Regions from separate parts of the Homo sapiens genome. Here region 2 is linked to region 1. The links are contacts of gene promoters, found by promoter capture Hi-C in human tissues and cell types (Jung and others, 2019). All regions are on one chromosome and are shown on one strand. The core of a region is centred on a gene start or on the middle of the fragment in contact, and the rest is flanking DNA. Distances in the headings are between cores, read along the strand shown.

What was found. The method cuts DNA at HindIII sites, captures the fragments that hold promoters and counts their contacts. A contact is called where the count stands out against the background at its distance.
Region 2: a contact is called between a fragment that was not itself captured here and the fragment with the promoter of HSF5 in region 1, in 1 of the 25 tissues and cell types used here (spleen).

Annotation. Positions count from the first base shown.
Region 1 is chr17:58,484,803-58,492,025 of GRCh38, reverse strand. HSF5 (heat shock transcription factor 5) reads left to right here and starts at 3,618. Exons shown (of 6, transcript NM_001080439.3): 1 at 3,618-4,301. The coding sequence starts at 3,752. It overlaps MTMR4 (myotubularin related protein 4), which reads left to right. Exons shown (of 18, transcript NM_001378067.1): 18 at 186-2,489. The coding sequence ends at 363. RefSeq lists silencers at 3,907-3,956, 4,217-4,336. The HindIII fragment of the contact is 20,222 bases long and covers 1-7,223 here.
Region 2 is chr17:56,863,691-56,870,913 of GRCh38, reverse strand. It overlaps DGKE (diacylglycerol kinase epsilon), which reads right to left. Exons shown (of 12, transcript NM_003647.3): 12 at 1,347-7,223. All of the region lies in intron 1 of LOC124904037 (a long non-coding RNA gene), which reads left to right. Among named protein-coding and RNA genes, the nearest start is that of MIR3614, 24 kb to the left of the region's middle. The HindIII fragment of the contact is 5,394 bases long and covers 289-5,682 here.

The DNA.
Region 1 (7,223 bases), core at 2,369-4,868:
TAATTAATTATTTTTTTATTAGCGATGGGCTCTTGCTATGTTGCTCAGGCAAGTCTCAAACTCCTGGCCTCAAGCGATTCTACTGCCTCAGCCTACCAAAGTGCAGGGATTACTGGTGTGAGTCACCCTGCCTGGCCAGTATATTGGCATTTCTGATGAACTCTTCCCTCTTTCTGCTTTGACAGAAATTGTGGGAATGTATTTTGTGCTGGATGCTGCCACCTGAAGCTGCCCATTCCTGATCAGCAACTCTATGACCCAGTTCTCGTCTGTAACTCATGTTACGAACACATTCAAGTCTCTCGTGCCAGGGAACTCATGAGCCAACAGCTGAAGAAACCCATTGCTACAGCTTCCAGTTGAATGCCGGGGAGAAACCTGTCCAATTTTAGCAGGTTTGAAGGGAGGATCTTCTTCAGTTGTAGTTTGGAAGGTTCCTTGGTGTGGCTCATGAAATCACAGAGCTCAGAGATACCATCTTGAGAAATCCTCCTTGGTATCATGAAACTGGAGCAGAGGAATTGCAATTTAGCAGGAGGTCCTCTACTGGTGATACCCTCACCTTGGGGTAATGGTCCTAACCCAGACCCAGGGTCTGGAAGCTTAATGTTGAGTTGGTGACTCCAGCCTCTTTCTCCTGGAGGTCACAAGATGATGATTGCGTAGATGTTGCCTGGTGCAAAGTGCCCCAAACAGCAATAGAAAGGCATATGTATAACCAAACTCCAAGTGATAACCAGACCCATCTCTCCTCCACCTTGACAAAAGCAGATTATAGTATACAAGGTAGGAATTCCTGTCCTATTTGAGATGAACTATATCCTGTACCTCTGTGCTCTGTGTCTGCATGAAGGCTCAGCCTTTAGAGGCACTCCTTCTAGTTGCATTAGTACTGTCTTTCTGTGGAGTTTGGTTTGAAGACTGGCTCAGCAAGTGGAGGTTTCAATGTATTTTTCAGTTGGCTCATCAGCCAGCATTGGTGAATATTCAGTTTAGGGGAACAGTTCTAGGGAGTGAGACATTTTTGGGAGCAGAGGAAAACTCTGCTGATGTTCGGTCCTGGCAAACATTGAGTTATTTTGAGCTGTGAAGGCAGTCGTCTCTGTTACACAGTGGCAGCTCTTGAGTTATGCACTGTGAAGAATGAGAAGGGAAAAGCAAAAATTATCCTTGTGAAATATCTGCTGATTGTGCCCTACTCTTTGCACCTGACTTTTCCTAGTTGTCCTGGTGCTAACACAGGAGCTACACCTTGATCCTCTCCTGGCATGAAAATAAAACAAAGGTTTTCGTTGTTGTTGTTCCATTGCCCATTTCCCCCATGTTGTCTTTCCCTTGGCTGATGCCTCCTCTGGGTCACATTGCTTCTTATCCTGAACACTTGACACCTTGAGGGTAGAATTTAGCGTTTGGTTTTTACCTCCTAGCATATGCTGTTTGGTATGTGAGGGTTTCAGTACAAATGCTGCTGTCTATTTCTGTGCACTTAACAATGGAACCCAAACAGAAGAGAATAAAGCCTTGATACCAAAATTGGGAAAGAACATGTGTCCATTTGGACCAAACGTTGTTGGTTTTTAAAAAATTTTATTTTGTTTTTTTGTTTTTGTTTTTGTTTTTTTTCATCTTAATATGTACCAGTGGCACTTAACCAAAAGATACAGTGATATAGCCATGTACTGTGGGTGGGACAGATACAGTCTCCTTGGCCTATAATGAAACCACTAGGACTTTATACAGTTTTCCTTAATTTGTTGACATATAAATGGTAAATTATATTTAGGCTTATCCTGTTTTGAAATGATGGTAGTCATCTTTCTTACTGCTACTTTCATGTTGCTTTCTAGAAAACAGCATTTCATTCCAAAATAACTAGGATCTGCATTTAGAACAAGAATCATTATTTGTCCTGACCTTTTCAGTCCTACAGAGACGCATCTGTGGTTCTTTTGTACTTGCCATAGATGTAACCTAAAAAGTTTTGGCATATTTAGGTCAGCCTAGCGGAACTTTTTTTTTCATTTAAATGGAGCTGAATAATGGAGATTTTGTGTCTGCAAAATTCCTGAGATCATTGAAAAAGTAACAAGCTGTTCCTTGTTTCTGATACATAAAATTATTTTAAGCATTTTATCAATCATTAAAATTTACTGCCAGTTGTGAGTGGCTTTTTAATTAACTTGTCTTTCATTGCACTTCACTCTGCCTGTTTTCAAGGGGAGTAAGATTGGTAACATTTGGGGAGACTGTATCTGTCTACTTAGCGTGGCTGTTTTGAGGGACTGTCCCATCAGTGAACAAACTGCATGGCCTTGGAGAGAGACTCTGGGCTCTTGGCTCAGATGTGTTCATCAAATACTCCTTTCAGAGCTGTTGTGGGTGTAAGTGACATGATGTGGCCAAAAATCCAAACTGTGCAGTTGCGTTGTGACAAACATGCAATGTGCTGTAAAAATTCAATACAGTTTAAATAAAATCTCTATATTAGTGCTGCTTTGTTGGGTCGTTTTATTTTCATTTCTAAAAAAACTTAATATTCACTTATTCTTTGACCATGAGAAGAGTAGAACATTGTACCCCTTTCTCCCAGCAATTTCCAATTTATTTATTTTGAGATGGAGTCTCCCTCTGTTCCCCAGGCTGGAGTGCAGTGGTGCGATCTCGGCTCACTGCAACCTCCGCCTTCTGGGTTCAAGCGATTCTCCTGCCTCAGCCTCCTGAACAGTTGGGACTACAGGTATGCTACCACGCTGGCTAATTTTTGTATTTTTAGTAGAGACAGGGTTTGACCATGTTGGCCAGGCTGGTCTCGAACTCCTGGGTTCAAGCAGTCCACCCAGCTCGGCCTCCCGAAGTGTTAGGATTACAGACATGAGCCACTGCGCCCGGCCAATTTCCGTTTTCAAATGAACCTCTCTTTTTGAATCAGCACAGCTCTTGTTACATTCTTATTTATTGATTGGCTAGGGATCGATTCTTATGGATACCGTAGAATTCTGTCCCATCTTTATTTCTCTTTAATGTCTAAAATGCCACCAGCTAGTTGGGCAGGCACACAAGATAGTACTTAGATTCTTGTGATTCCCTCCTCCTAGGGACCTCAGTTTTCATCTAACCTTGAGTAAATTGTCTTGAACAAATACTGACTTAAAAGAGTGTATCTTAAAAGATACAAAGGGCTACTATCTAAAAGGTGAGTTCGTTTACTCAAGATATTATACCTCCAGTAGCATCATTTTTGTTTGAGAGGTAAGCAGTTCCACTGTTAGCAAAGATTACAGACCAGACCCTTTGGTCCCCAGAACGACCAACTCTGCTGCCTAACGCACACTTTCTCTGCATTCCAAGTCTCCACTAGTTGGCTGGGCCGAAACACACGCCTCTTGGTATTCCACGGTGGATAACTGGGCTTCTCTCTTGTCAGGACTTAGAACACCCCGGCAGACAGCCTTCCCGGCCTGAAGTCTGGGAACGCCTGGGGAAGGGGCTCCTGCCCGGGTCCCGCAGGCGTCCGGCGGGCCGAGCTGGGGCACGCGGCCGCCGAGGGGGAGGTGCCCACGCCGCGTGGCGGGAACTCGAGGCCCCATTGGCCGCGCTGGGAGGCGCCGCGGGGCCTCGTGCGCCAACGGTCCCTGGTACGCGGCGGATGGGCGCCGGCAGGAGCGGGCAGGGCGAGGCGAAGGCCGGGGAGGGATCGAGAACGGTGTGGGAGAGCTAGGCTCGGGGGGCGAGGCCCCGGCCCGGCGGGGCGATGGAGGCGCTGCTCTCCACCCCCATCAACCCCAACAACTTCCCCGCCAAGCTGTGGCGCCTGGTGAACAGCCCGCGCTACCGCTCCATCCGCTGGGACGGCCGCGGCGAGGGGCTGCTTATCGATCAGCCGCTCTTCGAGGCCGAGCTGCTCAGCCCGCCCGGGCCGGGGGGCGGTGGCGGGACTGCGGGGGCCGGGGCCGAGCCCGAGCTCTTCAAAACCACCAGCTTCACCAGCTTCATCCGCCAGCTCAACCTCTACGGCTTCCGCAAGGTGGTGCTGGGCGGGCCGGGGGGCGGCAAACCGGCAGGCAATGGGCCGCTCCATCACTTCCACAACCCGCACTTCCGCCGCGACCAGCCACAGCTGCTCGTGCACCTCAAGCGCCTCACCAGCGCCAACAAGGCCAAGCTGGCGGCCGGCCTGGAGGTGCCCTGCCGCCCGCCCAACCGCTTCCAGCGGCTGCTCATCACCTCGGCCTCCGCCGCCACCGCGCCACTGCAGCACCAGCAGCCGCCGCCGCCCGCGGGGCCCCGGCCCGAGCCGCACGGTGAGTCCGGACTGCCCGTGCCCTCGCCCACAGTGGGCACATGGGCGGCGGGGAGCAACCGCCGCTGGAGGGCGCATTTTCGCACGTCCTCACGCTATGGGCGTCGGAAAGGCGCCGGGGACCCATTGGCCGCTGTGCTTCCCGAGACTGGCGGTCCCGCCACCGCCGCCGTTCTCAGCGGCACCAGCACGGTGGCCACCGGCCCTCCCCTGGAGGGTCCGTAAGCATTCGGCCCCTTCTGAGCCCACTGGCAGCAAAAGGGACCTCCGCCTCTTAGGCTCCCTTCTACTCGTCCCCGGTTTGAACCCCAGGAGTTTACCTGGTTGTAAGCCTCCGTTTACCTTCCTGAGACCCACACTGTCCACTGTAAACATGTGGACTCAGTAGTCCTTCGTTGAAACATTGGGTCTGGAAGAAACAAAAGGGGCTCCTTTGCTCCCGTGGGAAGCAGAGTGGAGTCACCCTACGGGTTAAGGCGGGATGGAACAAAATCGTAGTCAAGAGAATTTAGAACATTACGGTTGGGCGTGGTGGCTCACGCCTGTAATCCCAGCACTTTGGGAGGCCGAGGCGGGTGCATCACGAGGTTAGGAGTTTGAGACCGGCCTAACCAACAGGGTGAAACCTCGTCTCTACTAAAAATACAAAAATTAGCCAGGCATGGTGGTGCACGCCTGTAATCCCAGCTACTTAGGAGACTGAGGCAGGAGAATCGCTTGAACCCAGGAGGCAGAGGTTGCAGTAAGCCGAGATAGTGCCACTGCACTCCAGTCTGAGCAACAGAGCGAGACTCGGTCTCAAAAAAAAAAAAAAAAAAAAAAAGAGAGAACTTAGAACATTACAATAGCAGGCAAGGGAAAGTTTTGGAAAAGGTGCCTGCAGTGGAAATTTGTCCTTGAAGAGGGCTGCCACCTTCCACCTATTGGCACATCTAAGAAATCTTAGAAGTGCTACGACAATCATCAGATTTAAGGTTCTGGTTAATGTGTAGAATGGTAGACGTTGTTTATATACCTTAAGAGCAAAAATACAACGATACATCGTGGCTTACAAGATATAGTTCCTATGTAGAATGAATTGGCTACACATTTCTTTCATTGAAGCAAATTAGAGCTTGATGCTTCCTTAAAGGGGTATGATTAGACAAACATAAGGCAAAGATGGTTTTCTTTACAGCTGTCAAGTTTTAGTTAAAAAAGAATTTTAGAAAGCTCACATTTACAGCCTTTGGAGTTTTCACTATTGGCTACAATCTTTCAGTATTGAAAAAACTTTTTGGTATACATCTGTATTTAGTAAAAGTTAAGAAACCCTCTGTGATAGTGGATTATTTATTTTTTATTATTTGTTTATTTTTTTGAGACGGAGTTTCGCTCTTGTCACCCAGGCTGGAGTGCAATGGCGCGATCTCGGCTCACCACAACCTCCGCCTCTCGGGTTCAAGCAATTCTCATTCCTTAGCCTCCTGAGTAGCTGGGAATACAGGCGCGTGCCACCATGCCCGGCTAATTTTTATATTTTTTAGTAGAGACGAGGTTTCACCAGGTTGGCCAGGCTGGTCTCGAACTCCTGACCTCAGGTGATCCGCCAGCCTTGGCCTCCCAAAGTGCTGGGATTACAGGCCTGAGCCACTGCGCCCTGCCTATTTTACTTTTTGAGATTAAGTCTCACTGTGTTGCCCAGGCTGGCGTGCAATGGCAAGATCTCCGCTCACTGCAACCTCTGCCTCCCGGGTTCAAGTGATTCTTCTGCCTCAGCCTCCAGAGTAGCTAGGATTTTACAGGTGCCTGCCACCACACCTCGCTAATTTTTGTATTGTTAGTAGAGATGGGGTTTCACCATGTTGGCCAGGCTGGTTTTGAACTCCTGACCTCAGGTGATCCGCCCATCTTGGCCTCCCAATGTGCTGGGATTACAGGTGTGAGCCACTTCACATGGCCAAATTATTTTATAGACTTGATTTTTTTTTTTTTTTTTTGAGATAGGGTTTCACTCTGTCCCCCAGGCTGGAGTGCAGTGGCAAGATCTTGGCTCACTGCAACCTCCACCTCCCGGGCTCAAGGGATCCTCCCACCTCAGCCTCCCGAGTAGCTGGGACTACAGGCGTGGCCACCACACCCAGCTAATTTTTTGTATTTTTGGTGGATACAGGGTTTCACTCTGTTGCCCAGGCTGGTCTGGAACTCCTGGGCTCAAGTGATCTGCCCACCTTGGCCTCTGGAAGTGCTGGGATTACAGGCGTGAGCCACCACTGCGCCAGGCCTGTAGACTTGATTTTTGATGCTCTTCCCCCTCTTCCAGGAAGGCAAGGGTGGCAATATTCCATTTCTCTGTTTAAAGAGTCCATGATATGAAGCAGTATACCAAGAAACCAACAGGGTGTAATCATTCATTCATTCTTCACCTTCAGCTAGGAGAGTAAATAAAAACATTTTCAGCATGTTAACATGGATTTACTATAAAGAAATCTGGGGCCGGGCGTGGTGGCTCACGCCTGTAATCCCAGCACTTTGGGAGGCCCAGGCAGGCGGATCACAAGGTCAAGAGATCGAGACCATCCTGGCCAACATGGTGAAACCCTGTCTCTATTAAAAATATAAAAATTAGCTGGGCGTGGTGGCGGGTGCCTGTAGTCCCAGCTACTCGGGAGGCTGAGGCAGGAGCATCACTTGAACCTGGGAGGTGGAGGTTGCAGTGAGCCGAGATCACACCATTGCACTCCAGCCTGGGCGACAGAGTGAGACGCTGTCTCAAAAAAAAAAAAAAAAAAAAAAAAAAATCTGGGTTATTTTTGAGTTAATGGAAAAGTTTAAATGTACAAATAAAATAACACTATGTTCAACTTAACCTTCGCCCAGGGTTATGAATGACAACAGTACTTGGTTCATTTGGAATTTAGAAGATAAGGAACTAGGTTATGTG
Region 2 (7,223 bases), core at 1,736-4,235, 1.6 Mb after region 1:
CTTGGCCTCCCACAATTCTGGGATTACAGGTGTAAGCCTCCATACCCAGCCCTGCCCAGCTAATTAAAAAAAAATTTTTTTTTTTTTGTAGACATGGGGTCTTGTTACATTGTCTAGCTGGTCTTGAACTCCTGCTCAAGCAATTCCCCTACTCTGGCCTCCAAAGTTCTGAGATTACAGGTGTTATTCACAGAGGCTGGTCCTTTCAAGGATGTTTAAGTGCTTTCCAGTAGTCACTCATATGTCAAAAGATTGCCGTAAGGATCAGACAACTGGAGGAAACCAGCATGGACTATGTCATTCCCGAGGGTGACTCTGAGCCCTAGGGCAGCTATTGATAAACATCTGACTCTTCTTCCTAGACTATGTCAATAGTGGTAACTGAGAGTAATGCTATGCCATTTGGTCACACTCTCAGCTTGCGGACGGGGTGACTAAAAGTGGGGAACTGTCAAAGCAAAATTAAAATGGAAACTAGGCTTGAAACATTCCTGAGCAAACAAACCAACTAGGCCTTAAAAATAGCCCTAACCTACTTAAACTGTAAACATAAATGAAACTTAACTTGGGTCATTTTTGGTAAATGCTTATGTTAGATACAAAACTTAACCTCAGCCAATCATAAGCAGCCAACTAACATGATCATGAGACTGGGGACTTTCCAAGAAAGTAAGCCAAAAAAGGCAACCAATCAAATCATTTCTTAATTTTGCTTCTGTATGCACTCTATGAATACTTGCCTCTGATGTTGTGTCATTGAAACACTAAATCCTCATTGGGTTTGGGGTTTCCCAAGTCACGAATTGCTTCTTAAGTACATTCTAAAATTTTATTGTGCCTGCTTTTTTTTCTTTTACAATAGTCCATGTGTAATACTTTTAGCTCATCATCTCCAAACTCCTTCCATGAGTAACTTTTTGGTATATGATGTTTCCTTGTACAGGGAATTCCTCAGACAGCCGCATAAGCCCTAGTCCTAGTGCTCAGAACAATGACACGTCTGCCAATATTTAACACTTTTAAAATACTGTTGGTGGTGGTTGTGTTGATGATGAAAGGCAGTGGGGAGGATGGCCTGGGTTCAATCTCTAGCTCCGGGCTATCAATGTATATAACATGGAGCCAATAATGTCTACCTCACAGAAATACAGATTATAAAATAAAAAGTAAAAGCATGTGACACCTAACTGTACAATAAATGTGTGAAGCTGTTTAAGTCCAAACATGGATCATTACATGTAAGATGGCCTATGTGTGAACATCAGCAGCTATCACAGCCACGTTCACATATATGTAAATTATCAAGGGGCATTACGCTTGGCACTGTTTAAAAGAAAGCAGGCAAGTGATCAAGTGAATTTTTATTACAAAAATTTTATAAAAATGGATTTCCAGGTAAAGATGGCAGAATAAAGCAGGACTACAGAATATTCTTCCTCTAATGCCTAATAAAATGAATAAAAGATGTTACATGCCACAGTACATTTTTCAGATCGTTACTGATAAATCAGAAAGCTTTATGAAAATCCAGATGGAAGGAAACACACAGTTCTGCCATGCATATTAAGATGCATTCACTCTCCTGCCCTAATAATTATCATATAACCTTATGGTAGACGATAGTCAATTAGTTGCCAACCAATACTTAAAAATTAGATTTCATATACTCTAAACTTCTGTCTTTTCTAGAAAAATAAATTGTTTACACTAGGCCTGCTTCCCAGGAATCATGTGCTCCAGTTTACCGAAGTCTCTACAACTCTTACCTTCGTTGCTTGCCCAGCTCCTGTAAGCACTTGCAACCCGTAGGTGGGCATTAATTCCCATTCTTACAGAGAAAGAAAATTTGAGGCTCAGGAAGAACAAGTGTTAAGTTACAGTAGTAGAGGCTGGGTTTCCATTCAGGTATTTCAAATAAGTGATACATTTTTCCATACTCTACCAACTGAAAATAAGGTGAATTCACCTTTGATCCCACTTACTGCTCTACTCTGCCAGGAGCCAGTTTATATGCGTGAGAATGAATGTTTCTCCTAACACACGTGTATGATTCTGTGCTCTTAGGCTACAAAAGCCATGCAATATGAATTTTTTATTCTTTCTGTCTAAAAGTATGTGATCAGAACTTGCCACATATATGTTTGCCCTGCTGTAGACCAAGAACCACTTTTTGGGACACTAAGTCAAAGCTGCTTATTGTATCTCATGGTTGTGTCAAAAAACTACACAGTATCATACTTACGTGCTGCACTTTTAATTTTATTAAAAAAGAAGCAAGTATCTTCAACATACCAAATGCTTTCACATTTCTGCCTGCAGGCACTGACCACAAAAATACAGACCCAACACAACAAAAGCAATTAACACAAGATAATTAAGTGGTAGTTACAAGTGGTGGGCAGGGGAAAGTGCAAGAGGCCAGCTGGCTGAGCAAGTGGAGTCATCACATGTGTCCTCAACATTGTGGGTTTAGGGATCCAGTGCAATCAGTTCACTTCTAAGAGGACTGGGGTTGAGGACTCGAGCTAGGCTGCTCTAAACTTGTACAAACAGAATTACAAATCAGAGTGCCAATTTATCTGTAGGGTTTGTTTAAGCAGTTCAGATCTGAAAGACTGCTGGCAGAGCCCTGAACTGGACTGAGAACAAACGTTTTTATGAGCCATCATCATCCACCTCCACAAAGTGCCTGCCTTACTCTAGGGTTTTTCTCAGCCAAATCTACTCATCTGATCAGGATGCCCTCTTGCCTGGACAATGTCAGAGGAACAAGGAAAACAACTGAGCTTTCCAGCTCTTCCTTTTCAACATTCCATGTTAGTCACCAAAAAGTAACACATAATGGAAATTCTCTAGATTACAGCTTATTTCCTGTTTAGTGCATTCTGTGTTGATGTCGTCCTTTAACAGTGAGGTAGCTCAGGGCATCCTTAGAGAGACTGAAGTGTTCTTGGTCTGATATCTGATACCAGCAACACATTTCTTTCTTTTTTTTTTTTTTTGAGATGGAGTCTCACTCTTTGGCCCAGGCCCCACTGCAGTGGCACTATCTCGGCTCGCTGCAAGCTCCGCCTCCCTGCAAGCTCTGCCTCCCGGGTTCACGCCATTCTCCTGCCTCAGCCTCCCGAGTAGCTGGGACTACAGGTGCCCGCCACCATGCCCGGCTAAATTTTTGGATTTTTAGTAGAGGCGGGGTGTCACCGTGTTAGCCAGGATAGTCTCGATCTCCTGACCTCGTGATCCACCTGCCTCAGCCTCCCAAAGTGCTGGGATTACAGGCGTGAGCCACCACGCCCGGCCTTTTTTTTTTTGAGATGGAGTCTTGCTCTGTTGCCCAGGCTGGAGTGCAGTCATGTGATCTCCGCTCACTGCAAGCTCTGCCGCCTGGGTTCGAGCAATTCTCGTGCCTCAGCCTCCTGATTAGCTGGGATTAAAGGCATGTGCCAATGTACCTGGCTAATTTTTTTTGTATTTTTAGTAGAGACGGCGTTTCACCATGTTGACCAGGCTTGTCTCAAACTCCTGACCTCAGGTGATACGCCTCCCTTAGCCCCCCAAGTGCTGGGATTACAGGTGTGAGCCACCGTGCCCAGCCTCAGCAGCACATTTCTATTTATAGTTTCTAGGTGATTTATTTTCTGCAGACTTTCTTGCATATGGTTAAGCCCAATCATTTCATTTAAGTTTTATAAACGTCTGTATTAGAGGATGGCATTTTAAAATTCTTTCCCCAGAACCCTGGAATGTACCTTTCTGGGCTATGCAAGCCTCATGCACTGACTACACAGGGCCACATGGGTAAATATATATGTATTGATGTGTATTTACATATCAAAAATTAAATAGACTATATGCTTAAATTAGAAACACAAAGAACAAAGGCTAAGTTCACTGCTTTACTATTCAATAAAATAGCTTTAAAAACTGTGAAACAGCCAAGTGGCCACATTCTAAACAGCGACGGAGACCTCCAAAATATTCTGTCCACCAAAAAAACACGAAGTTTCTGAATATGTAAAAATTAGTAGAAAATCAATTAGGTGACAAAGTCATTATAGTAGTGGCTTTCAAACCCTTTATAAAAAATAGCAGAATCATTTTAAATGTGGAATTATTTTATCTACTGAGATCTGAAGCAGCACTCAGTATACACAAGTGTGGCTGCATTGACTGCAGTGAGAAGGCAGGCGCCTCCATGGCTCACTGCCCCTTGGAGGCGCACTGCACTAACTCCTGAAGCAACTCCTTGTCCCCCAACACTGCATGGGTCACAGTCCAAAAACTGATTCCACATATGAATCATACCAATTTTTATGTAACAGAGTTCAGACAAATATATCAATTTGGGTATGATACAAATAAGTTTTTCATAGAGTTCTTTTAGAAAAGTGATTTTGAGGGAAGAGGACAGCGGAGTAGAAGAAAAACAATTTTAAGAACATACAATTAATTCAATTTTTCGGCATGGTATCCCACCTAGCAAAAGCCCTAGGTGAATACATGAGGTTCAGACCAGAAGCTTTCAAATTTCAGTATGCTTAAGAATCGCCTGAGGCGCTTGTTAATAAAAACAGAGATTTCTATGTTGCATCTCCAGAGACAGGGAATCATTAAGTTAAGGGTTGGGCTCAGGAATCCATACTTTCAACAGCCTGCCCAGGCATTCTGATGCTGCAGATAGCCTGCAGCGCGTACTCTGAAGAACAAGAGAAAGGCTTCAAGGGAAAAATTGAAAAAGACAGGGGGACACTGTTTAAAAGCAAAACCCAAACCACCTTTTCTGTCTTGTTGCTGAGAATGAATTCAGATTGGGATAAACAACCTTTTCTTTCTTTTTAAATATCTAGATATTTTAAATATATCTACTTATATTCCACTGTCCTCAACTGGGTAGAAATATTAAAAAAATTATCAATATAAAATGCTGGTTCTTGCTTCAATATTATCATTTTGAAGGAAAACCACACAAAACCATTACCCATTCTAATGACTTTTTTGGCCAAATTATGTATTTGGGTCCACATTAATCATTAAATTAGTATAACCTTTAAAGTTTTCAAGTTAGTGCAAATTTAAAATTCAATAAATATATTAAATACAATTTTACTTTATATTACAAATGTAAATTATTTTTCTTTTGACATGCTGGTAGTATTCATTTTTACAACGCAAACTGACTTTACAATTTCTGAGTCACAGTATATTTTATAACTCTAAGCAAATGTATTTCACAAAGCAAACACTATATGTTTTTGACATACTCTAAAAAAATAAAAATAAATAATTTTGATTATAAAATTTGTATAAACTTAGCTACATTAGGGGTTCACAGCTAATTGTTGCAGAAAACCTAAAACACACCTAAATCATGTAACTTTACTAGCAGACAACTTGTATTTTAAAACACAAGTCAGTTTGATTTCTATTAAACATGACGAAACACTGAAAATTATCATCATCTGCCTAAGGGATCTTTAAGAGCTGCCAGGTATTCAGTATTTAAGCCACTACGTTTATAGGAATTAGGAATGTATTGGGATAGTAAAAAGATTAGAGAAATCTGGAAACAGACATGGAGATATGATTTACTTCATGTATTTCTTCCTGAGAATGTAGAAGTTATTTTTTTAAATATCAAGACAATTTAAAATGGAACAGGAAAATCTTATGGCAATTTTTTTTGGTAAAGTGTAGAATCCCTGGTAATATAAACAATCACTACCCTAATATGTAACTTGCAAACATGAAGTCTTATAAATTGTACTTAAACAAGGCACATGCCTATACACTTATTTGAAATGCTGGGTAAATGTGCCCAAAAAGTAAGTGAATTTTGCAAAAACAAGATAATGATACATTTTATGAGATGGTATTCTGAAATAGCTTCCCTAAATGAAGTCTAAATAAGTGAATAAGCCAGCAGAAAAACTTCATGACAGACCAGTAGTGATGCAAAAACCTTACTAGATTACAATAACCAAAAAATCAACTTATTTAGATAAATGAGGGCATTTTACATAAGCCTGTTCTAAATACAGTGTAATATTATGGTTGGTATTAAAATTATAATTTTTAATTGTAGTTTTCACAATTAAAAAGCTGTATTAGTTATTGTGATTATTTTCGTTCCAACATCCTAAATTGATTTGCTTCTACTACAATTAGCACTACGAATTATATAACAGGTAAACTATAACCTACAGCAAAGTGGATTTAACAGTGTATTTATAAAATGTGATGTCTTTAACAATTTTGATCATGAATGAAAGGATAAACTTCATAATACTCAGAACATGATTGGCCCATTAAAAAAAAAAAAAACAAAACTCTGCCATCCTCACTGCCATGGTTACTTACCATGAAAGGTATATAAAGAAGCTGAAAACAGATCTGCTCACAAAGTTTCTCAAGACTAGAATTTAAGATCACCTGAGGAGATCTGCAAGAGGTTAATTTAGCAAAATAGAGTATTTCATAAAATGTACTGACTACTGTATACATTACTAAGTTGCTCTTTGAAAACATGGTCTGGGCCTGAGGTGAGGCAAACTTAGGTTTATGGCAATTCATGGATGACAGATTCATAATAGACCCTCAAAGATAGCTAATGGTATTTTGGGGGATACATTCTGATCTTTCAGAGATTAATGTCATGAAAGACCACAAAGCCTGGGCCATGTGTCAGAAAAACACCAGGCTGGATGCCCTCTGGGTCAGCCGACCTGTGGGTCACGACCCTTGGGCTGGTCAACAGCAGCGAACAAGCACCCTCTAATGGGAACCATGAAACTAGCCCTTCAGTAAGTTTGTGGCAATTGAGGGGCAAATAAAACAATGAAACAAAGCTTTCAGTTATCCAAAAGTAGTTCCCTAGTGCTTTTCATGCCCTCCTTCATTTTTCAATACAATGAGGAATATTTGTGAAGAATAAGAATATCTAGATTTCTGTCAGGAGAATTAAATTAGAATTTTAATTAATAGACTAAATTTCTATCTGATTGTGACTAGCAGAATTTATGTGATCAATTTAACTTATTAAATAAAGCTACAGAACGTAAACACTAAACACAGGTACCATACCACAAGGTAAATAATAAATAATTTAAAAATATATCTCTCTCATTTTAAAATAAATATGATATAAACATTTTAGCAAAGATTTCTGTCCACTTACCTCCCTAAGGGGAAATTCTGTTAAAAGACTACTGTATTTCAAAATACTA